2 separate regions of the Homo sapiens genome follow, and region 1 is linked to region 2. The links are contacts of gene promoters, found by promoter capture Hi-C in blood cells and fetal thymus (Javierre and others, 2016). All regions are on one chromosome and are shown on one strand. The core of a region is centred on a gene start or on the middle of the fragment in contact, and the rest is flanking DNA. Distances in the headings are between cores, read along the strand shown. Region 1 overlaps AGO3 (argonaute RISC catalytic component 3). Region 2 holds the start of AGO3 (argonaute RISC catalytic component 3).

Region 1 (4,454 bases), core at 129-2,628, 130 kb before region 2:
GTTGTTGTTGTTGTTTGCTTTTAGTCTTCTTTTCTGGAAGAATGCTCACCAAATTCACAGGAAAGAAGTGCCTAGGTGATCATTTACTGCTATTTACTGCTTCCTGGTATGGAGCAAAATTGCCCTCTGGTAGGTAACTACATTTCTAATTAGTATGAAAGGTTCTACTATTTTCCTTTCTTTTGCTTATTTCCCCTTAAGCACAATTTGCAGACCCTACTTCTATTTAACTGATCATACCCTTTTAAATGCCTTGTCATCATTTTTCATAGTTCCTGCATCCTAGAAAAAATAAAAAATCATTTAAAATATTCCTTGGTGTCTAGAAAAGAAAATTTCTCTAACAATAGAGATTATCATTTTGCTTTCTCACTTAAGCTGATCTGAATGATGATTTGGTACTGCCTTTATGAGCAGTCCTCCTTAATAATGACTAATTAGGGCCGGGTGTGGTGGTGCATGCCTGTAATCCCAGCTACTTGGGAGGCTGAGGCACGAGAATCACTTGAACCCGGGAGGCGGAGTTTGCAGTAAGCTGAGATTGAGCCACTGCACTCCAGCCTAGGTGACAGAGCAAGACTTTGTCTCAAAAAAAAAAAAAAAAAAAAAGATTAATTAGAAAATGTTGCCTATGATTCCAGGCAAGTTACATTTCCCTTTGGACATTGGTACTATACCCATAATCTTGTTAAAAAGTTAAGTAGGTTTGCTGTTTTATGTGCATTATGGATTTCCTCCAACACAGTTGGGAATTAAAAGAGGTAATTCTACTAAATATTTTGTTTTCAAATTTACAAAATAAATTTGGTGAGCATTTACCTAGATACTTTACTGCATAAAAGCTTTCCTTGGTTCCCTTGGACGAGATTCAAGACAACAACTAACATTATTTTTATGAAACTGTCACACTCTTGGAGTTCTAAAATAATTTATCTTTAAAATTCTTAGCTTCGTGCTACTTGAAAAATAAAAATCTACAGCACCATCTTCTGAAAAGGCACTTTCTAAGAACCGCCTTGCTTTAAAAAATGATTAAAAAATTTAACTCAAGAGTCTACGCCCTGACAAACGTCTTTGCTTTACTGAGACCCTAACATAGATACATTAGATTCTGGTTACCTTAGAAATTAGTCTAAAAAAGGAAGGGACCCCGATGGCTGGATAGGTGATTTGACAGGATTCTAATTTTGTCACACCATTTACCTGATACTTCAACAGGGTTTCTCACTGGTAAATCTCAACCCTCTATATTGAATTTACCATCCTTCTATCTTTAATTCAAATTAAAATCTTTAACTTCCATATTTTAAGAACAAAAGATTCTTGAGATTTAATCAATGATGTAAACATCTGGAGTACTAGTTTTGATGGGTAAAGTAATATAAATTTCAATGAGTAGTAGGTAATATTAGCACAAGCCTTGACCATTATACCTTAGTTTAAAAAATTATGTTGACTGACATGGAAAATTATAAACTTAAATGTACCATTTTAAAAGTAGGAAAAAAGTCAAAATAATTTTTCCCTTTGTGTGTGTGTGTGAGATTATATATATACACACTCATACATATACACACACACACACTCCCCCTCCCTGCTTCCTGGGACTCAGCTTGGCTTTCACTAATCACAGTGTCATTTCTAACACTGCAACGGATCAAGAATGTTCTTAGTATAAGCAGGACTTTTTTAAAAAGATTTTTTGGAGAAAATTCTCACTTTCTGATTTCTGTGCTGACTGACTTACCTACTCTTGGCTGATTTTTTGACTCCTATAGAATCACAAAAGTGCTTTTCTATGATCAAATATGAGGACTGAAATAGGAAAACAAGAGTTCTAAATTAGGGTTATACTGCTACACAGGAAGGCGTTACTTGATGTCAAACCTCCCAACAATTCTTACTGAAGCTTTAAGACATTTATGAATTCTCAAAAAGAATGAAAATAATGAATACTTCATATGGATAAAGCCAAAATAAAGACGCCACACTAATGATATTTTTGCAGCTTGACTAACTAATAAAAGGTAATTTAAGTAGCAAGTTACTGTTAAGGGCAACCTGCCTGTTCAACAGAAGAACATCTAAGAGGATAAGCTAAGCAAACATTTAACTCAGGTTTAATGATACTGAATGAAAATTTTGCAGAGTTGTCAGTTAAACTTCTTGGTAAAAATATTAAAATCAAGTTTGAAATAGGAAGACTGCAACATATTCTAGCTGTATCGAAGTCGTTTGCTTCTTGAATTTCATAAAAATCACTGCCCTTGGCAAATTCATGTAGGGCTCTAAACAGATCCATCAAGTTCCTTGAGTCACAAACGGTCTCTAATTCCTGGTCTGCAATCCATCTAAATACTTCGGATCCATCACTGGCATGCTTAGCGCTCACCCTTTCCTTGAACACAGAGATCCGCTGCCAGTCATTCCTGCTGAAGGGCAAGTCAGGTTTTATTTCCCTAGACATGCCTTCAGTCTTTCATGACTCTGTCAGAAGGCCTATCCTCCTAAAATCCATTAGAGAATACACAAGCAAACACTAGGCAGTGGTGGGCTGTGGAGAAGCTAGCTTGGAAACTGGTCTAGATCTTTAGAAGGCTGAGAATCCCTGTGCTGGAAAGCAGAGATGCCTCTATCAAGTGCCTTCCAAAACACTCAGTAATTCCTACTAGAATCCCTGCTAGACTCTCTTCTAGGAATAGAAATATATTAATAGGTTATAAACAGGGATTTCCCTTAGAATGATAGTTTTTCCAAGAAACTTGTTAGAAGATCACTATTAAGAAAAAGAAAGGGAATCTAATATTTCTGTTGAAATGTGCCAAAAAACCAGTACTGAAGAGGCTGAGGTACCCTTTTTCAAACTGTAAAAGTCAAAATCTACATTTCTAAAACAAAGAATATCCTGATATTAAATTGAAACTAAAATGGCAGCACCCTTTGTTACTTTGATATTCCGTGTCCTTACTCTTAGGAAAAAAAAGGGTCTAACACTAGCCTTGAATCCTGCTTATCTCCTTACTGTTTAGTGCAGTAACTGTCAGAATCTACTTAAATAAATATAGCAGCTACAATATTGTAAGTGTATGGTCCTCCATGCCAGTAACCTGATACTGTGATATAATACATGTATCAGCACTTTATGTAGACACATTAACCATCAAGAATATACATTAAACTCCCAACTCTTCTTCATATGAAAATCAATTATCTAGTTGCCAGACTGATATTTTACAGTCAGTCTCGTAAGATACATCACAGAAAAAAGAAGACCAAAATCTAGCATTCATGATATAGTTAGTGAGCAAGGGCAGGAGCAGAAGGGTCACTGTGAATTTCATGTTTAACTTAAAAAAAAAAACTTTTTTAAAATAAAAAAGATTAGAAATTCTACACCAGAAATGCAACAATAAATAGGACAAATTTCAAGAAGCATTTGTCACTTAGCCTTTTATCTTAAAATTCTAAGCACAAGTTTTCTTGTAATTAAGAACCAATGGTAATTAATATACCAATTTGTTAGCAAAATAGAAATATAGTATACATACTCTTTCAAGTTAATCAACTTTAAACTAGCAATGCTGACTAGTGTAAGAGCACTCTAAAAAAGAAATCACTCAAAAGGTAAAGCTTTATAATTTAGAAAAAATATTTTTCCTCTTAAAAAAGTCCTTCCAAATAGATTTAAATTAAGGGCTCCACTCTAGCATATATGAGTGACTGAAAATTAGGTGAGAGAGTACATAGAGAAAGGGTATCTACAGTCATTCCCTAAAGTTTCCCACATGAATCTGTGCAGCTCCCATGATAAAGGAAGATGTTTTACTCACACTGATCAAGCATAGACGAATTAAATTTTTATCATCTTGGGTATACTATTTTCTTCTCTTGCCCATGATCCTGACTATATTCAGTAAAATTTCAGTGTAAAAAAATCCATCTTTATAGGAAATTTTTCTGGAGGAGATGGGAGAAGGCTGGGAGAAAAAATGTATATACGATACAAATATTACCTTTTGTAAAGTTCTTTGCAACAGTGTTGTAAATTGCATTTCAGACACTTCAAAATAATAAACATACAAAATACAGTACTTTCTTAGTTTTCTGGCAGAGGGACAAAAGATTTCATGCCTGTCAGAGGACATGGGCTCAGATTTTAGGCTCAAAATACAGTGAATTGGCAATAATAGTGGATTACAGGTAAGAGAGAAACTAAAGATCTAAATCCATTAGGTTTCACGTGCAGATGGAATTCTGAAAGGCTAACAACAATGCCCACTGGAAACAATCTGTAGTATCTATACTCTGAACCAGTGCAAAAAAAAAAAAAATCAAAATGCAATTTTCATGAGTTACAAAGTGCAAAGCTCCCCTGAATCCAATGTTACTGATAAACTCAGTTTTGATAGCTTTATAGTACTTTTTAATACCTTAAAGTGTAATCAATAAAAGTT
Region 2 (4,308 bases), core at 1,680-4,179:
TTAATTTTTAACTAATTTCACCTTTTTTTTTGTTAAATCAAAGTTCTGATGGTACTAAATCAGTAGATTGCACAAGATATCCTTAAAAAGCATTTAAAATATTTCATATGAAAGAACAAATACTAACTTATATGGTATTTGTGTTCGAGGTTCCCTAATGTAAACAAATTTAACAGTTTTCTGTGTATCCACCGAGCAACTAGAATTTAAAATATCCTATCACAAGATGATTCCTGAGAATCTCCACAAAAAAGAAAAACTTATGGCAGAATTGGAAAGCCAAGATTCAATACTGAGTCAATAGACTTTTTGAGAACATTTATACTAAAATTTTAAAATCAAAATACGTGTCAAATGATGATTTTTTTTTTTTTTTTTTTTTTTTTTTTTTTTGAGACAGGGTCTTGCTCCGTCACCCAGGCTGGAGTTAGTGGCGCGATCATAGCTCACTGCAATCTCTGCCTTCTGGGCTCAATCCATTCTCCTGCCTCAGCCTCCCAAGTAGCTAGGACTGGAGACATGTGCCACAATTCTCGGCTAAGTTTTCTGTTTTTTGTAGAGGCAGGTCTCACTATGTTACCTAGGCTGGTCTCCAACTGCTGGGCTCAAGCGATCATCCTTCCTCAGCCTCCCAAAGTGCTGAGATTACAGGCATGAACCACCACACCCAGCCTAAATTATGGATTTAAAATTTAGTTGCACAGCTATGCTTTCAACTTAAAGCTAAGCATACCAATTATATACAAGTCTCAGGAATAATGAAAATTTTGTTTCTGATGACAATCTTGAGCCAAAGTATAGCTTATCTTCATTATTAGGCTACATTCAATCATGTATAAACTGTACTGAAGAAAAAACTTTACTTTTCAAGAGACCCAGGCATATAGTTGATAATCTAACTACACACTTCCCCAAATGTGAAGACAGCTAAATGGGTATCCATTTCAGCAATGGGACACCCAAAAAAGAAGAGGTAAAATGTATTTTCTGAGCTGTACTTGGCTTAGTTGTACCAGTTGACTAGGTGGTTTGATGTAACAAATGTTTTCTAAGACATTTCCCATATATATGGGCACAATATCATATGAAAAACCCTAAGGAGAAAAAGAAAAAACTTTAAAAACTTTTTTGAAATATCTTTAAAAGTTTTGGGATGATTAATAAAGGGTCTGACCTTCATGACTTGTTTTCCAGACTTGACAACAGGACAGTTATGTACAAAGATCACCTATGGTCCCAAATAATCACATCTCCTGTACAGTAAAACAGTAGTATGGTAATTTTTTTAAAAGGGCAGGACAGTTTCAGAAATACACAAATCAAAACTGAATAAGAGTCGAAATCTTTTCACAATCCAGACAGACCTTTTAAGACGATATGGGGGAAAGCGAAACAATGGAGCAGGAAAAAGAGATATGGTCTAAATTGATTAGAGAAACTTCCATGTAACAAAATTTGTAAAAAAAAAAAAAAAAAATTTGTAACTCTCTCCCCATCTCATCTCCCCAGTTTGAGTGCTTTTTTGCAACCATTTGACACGTAATCTATTCAACAAAGTTCTTAGCTATCGTTATGTCACTGGTTTCTTTTACGTAAGTTTTTCTTATATCAAATTGGCAAAAAGAGATATGGAATTCAGGAACTTGTAACACCATTAGTAACAAGACAGCCCCGCAAATATTTTGAAAATTAATTTACGAACTTGTGATCGTCTGAAGCATACTTTCAAATTTAATAAGCCAAGCATGATCATTTGTTAGGCAAACCGTTATGCAACACCTTTCTGTCCCTGAATTAATTACTTTAGAACCATAAACAATACTTTTCCTTTTTTAAGGACAAGTACTATCCATGTTGCAATTTTCTCTTAAGACTGCAAAACTGCTGCTCTTGCCCCCAGAGATAAAGCAGTTTTCTTAAATTCCAAATTTCCAGGAATATGACAACTACTTCTCTAAGGAATAGAGAATGAAAAAAAATATACTGTCAGCAATTTTAAGAACCACCTCCTCGTATAAGCAGGGATCCAGGCTGCTATGACATTTCCAAGCTCCTCAGAAACTATCTACCATGCTGCCACAAACAACAGAAAAGAACTCGAGGGTAGGAGCAATGCCATGTTGAATTTAACGTTGCACCAACACCTCCTTCGAACTTAATCTGAAGTTATCCGTTATCTCAGCCTATCTTCACAACTATCCTAAGAGGTAGGTAAGGGAGCTGGCTGGCTGCCCAGCCTCTACGGAACACACAACCTGGCTAAAGGACACGCACTCCAACTAGACAATGGCAAACCATTCTAAAGTCTAGAAGAAGGGTACTCCAGCAAAGAGTAATGCCGCCTAGATAACCCCAAACTTAAATCCTCCAAGCGTTTCCCCGCCTCGCAGTTTCGCCGACTCAGGGGCCCCCGGGGAACTGGGGCTGGGCTGCGGGGAGGTCGCGGAGGAGCAGGGCGAGGGGCGGGAGACCGAGCGATGCCCGCCCGACGCTCACCTCGCGCACCTGGGCCGGGCGGGAGGAGCAGGGATGCTCAGAGGACAGTAGCTGGGTGACATCCCCTACCTGGCCCAGCTACTCTGACTCACCTGCGGAGCCGATTTCCATTCATGGAGCTGGGGGGAGTGCTTCGAGGGAGAACGGAGCCCGCCACTGGCGGCAAGGAGGCGGCCCGGGGGGCGACGCGGCGCGACGCGACGGGCACTCTCACTCGGCCCCGAGGCGGGGGCGGCGACGGCTTCCCCTGAGCAACCGCACTCCGAAAGCTCTGGGCCGGAAGAGTCGCGGACGGAAAACGGCACAGGACTAGGCGAGAGGAAGGGGAGATGTGAGGCGCGGACAGAGGGGAGTCCCGTCCGGAAGTTGCATCGCCCGCGGCCGCCGACGCTCCCACCGCTCCTCCACGACTGCGGGCCGCCGCCGCCGACCTGCCCGGGGCCGCCCCGGAAGCTCGCCGGCGTCAGTTCCGCTGCCTGGCTTGCCCGGCGTCCTCGCCTCGCCTCTGGGCCCCGAGCCGTGCCGGAGCGACGTCGGGGCAGGAGCGGCCGGCGCGGAGGACGCCGGGGAGGTGTCCGGGAGCCGGGCCACATGCGGCGGGCTCGGCCGTACCCCGCCGGGCCGTGCCGGCCGGAGACAACGCGGAGGGGCAGGACTACTCGCGCCGCACGAGTGGGGGCGGTGCCTGTCTGCGACGACGTCGCGGCTGGCGGCGGGGCTTACCTGAGGAGTAGCCTACCTGGAGCCGGCGGGTGAAGGACCCCGAACTGCCGCGGAGGCCCCGAGCCGAGCCCGCTGGGGTAGGGCCACCCTCCTTCCTGAGCCCCCGCCACGCCCAGTCCGATCCACCCCACGCGCCGCCTCCTCACAGGCGGTCAAGTGACCACCGCAATTGACCTAAGTCCTAGGCTGCTTTAACGACCATTTTTAGGAAAAAAAAAATGTATTATAGTTTGGAAAAGATGACTAACAAACAGGACACTACACAAACATCAGATCGAGTAATTTCCATGTTTAAAACTCTTTAATAGCGCCTCGTCACACTTGAAAACCCAAACTCCTTTCCAGGGTGAAAACGCACGGCGTAAATGGGCCCCGCCTGTGCTACAGCTATACTGGTTGGCTTCCAATTCTCCCAACGGGCCAACCGCTGCTTTTTTCTGACTTGGAGCTTCTCTGCTTTTGGTTCCCTTGGCCAGGAACCCTCTCTCTCTTCTCCACCCTCCCCTTACGCCCTACCCCACAGCTTTTTTTTGCGTCTCAACGAAAGACATCTGAGACGCCTTTTCCGGACCACCCATCTATGGTGGGGCACCTGTTAGTCTACTACAGTATTGCCTTGGTAGCCCTTTGCCCAGTCTGTTATTTATTTACTACTTGTGTGCCCCCCACCTCACTTGAATGTCAGGCAAATATTAGGTCCTTAATAAATATTTGTTGCCTTAATGAAACATACTATTTTATTCAGGCTGAGGAATCATTCATAATTTCTCCCCATGTCCCTATGCTTCAGTAATACGGTTTTTTTTAATCAAAATAATTTTTTAAAGAGGAAAAGGAGAAAGAATATCCTATCTTCAGTTCCCCTCACTGTGGGACTTTGGATCAGTCACTTGATCTCTCTGGGCTTCAATTTTCTTATCTGAAAAATTGAGAGAACAGCATGTACCTTACACAGTTTGTAAGGTTAGGTAATATACATAAAGCACAGAGAAAATCCTCCCCAAATGTTAGTGAATAACACAAGTATTTACTATTTACCATTTTAAAGTACTTACCATATAATATTAAACAATAAATGTATGGGACTCA

What was found. The method cuts DNA at HindIII sites, captures the fragments that hold promoters and counts their contacts. A CHiCAGO score of 5 or more calls a contact.
Region 1: a fragment that was not itself captured here is called in contact with the fragment with the promoter of AGO3 in region 2 in 2 of 17 cell types (M1 macrophages and M0 macrophages); the score reaches 5.8 in M1 macrophages.

Annotation. Positions count from the first base shown.
Region 1 is chr1:36,058,315-36,062,768 of GRCh38, reverse strand. AGO3 (argonaute RISC catalytic component 3) reads right to left here. Exons shown (of 19, transcript NM_024852.4): 19 at 1-4,454. Among named protein-coding and RNA genes, the nearest start is that of TEKT2, 24 kb to the left of the region's middle. The HindIII fragment of the contact is 1,067 bases long and covers 845-1,911 here.
Region 2 is chr1:35,929,726-35,934,033 of GRCh38, reverse strand. AGO3 (argonaute RISC catalytic component 3) reads right to left here and starts at 2,929. Exons shown (of 19, transcript NM_024852.4): 1 at 2,589-2,929. The coding sequence starts at 2,607. It overlaps AGO1 (argonaute RISC component 1), which reads right to left. Exons shown (of 19, transcript NM_012199.5): 19 at 3,502-4,308. RefSeq lists enhancers at 1,742-2,264, 2,265-2,789, 2,790-3,313 and silencers at 2,427-2,766, 2,777-3,286. The HindIII fragment of the contact is 14,155 bases long and covers 1-4,308 here.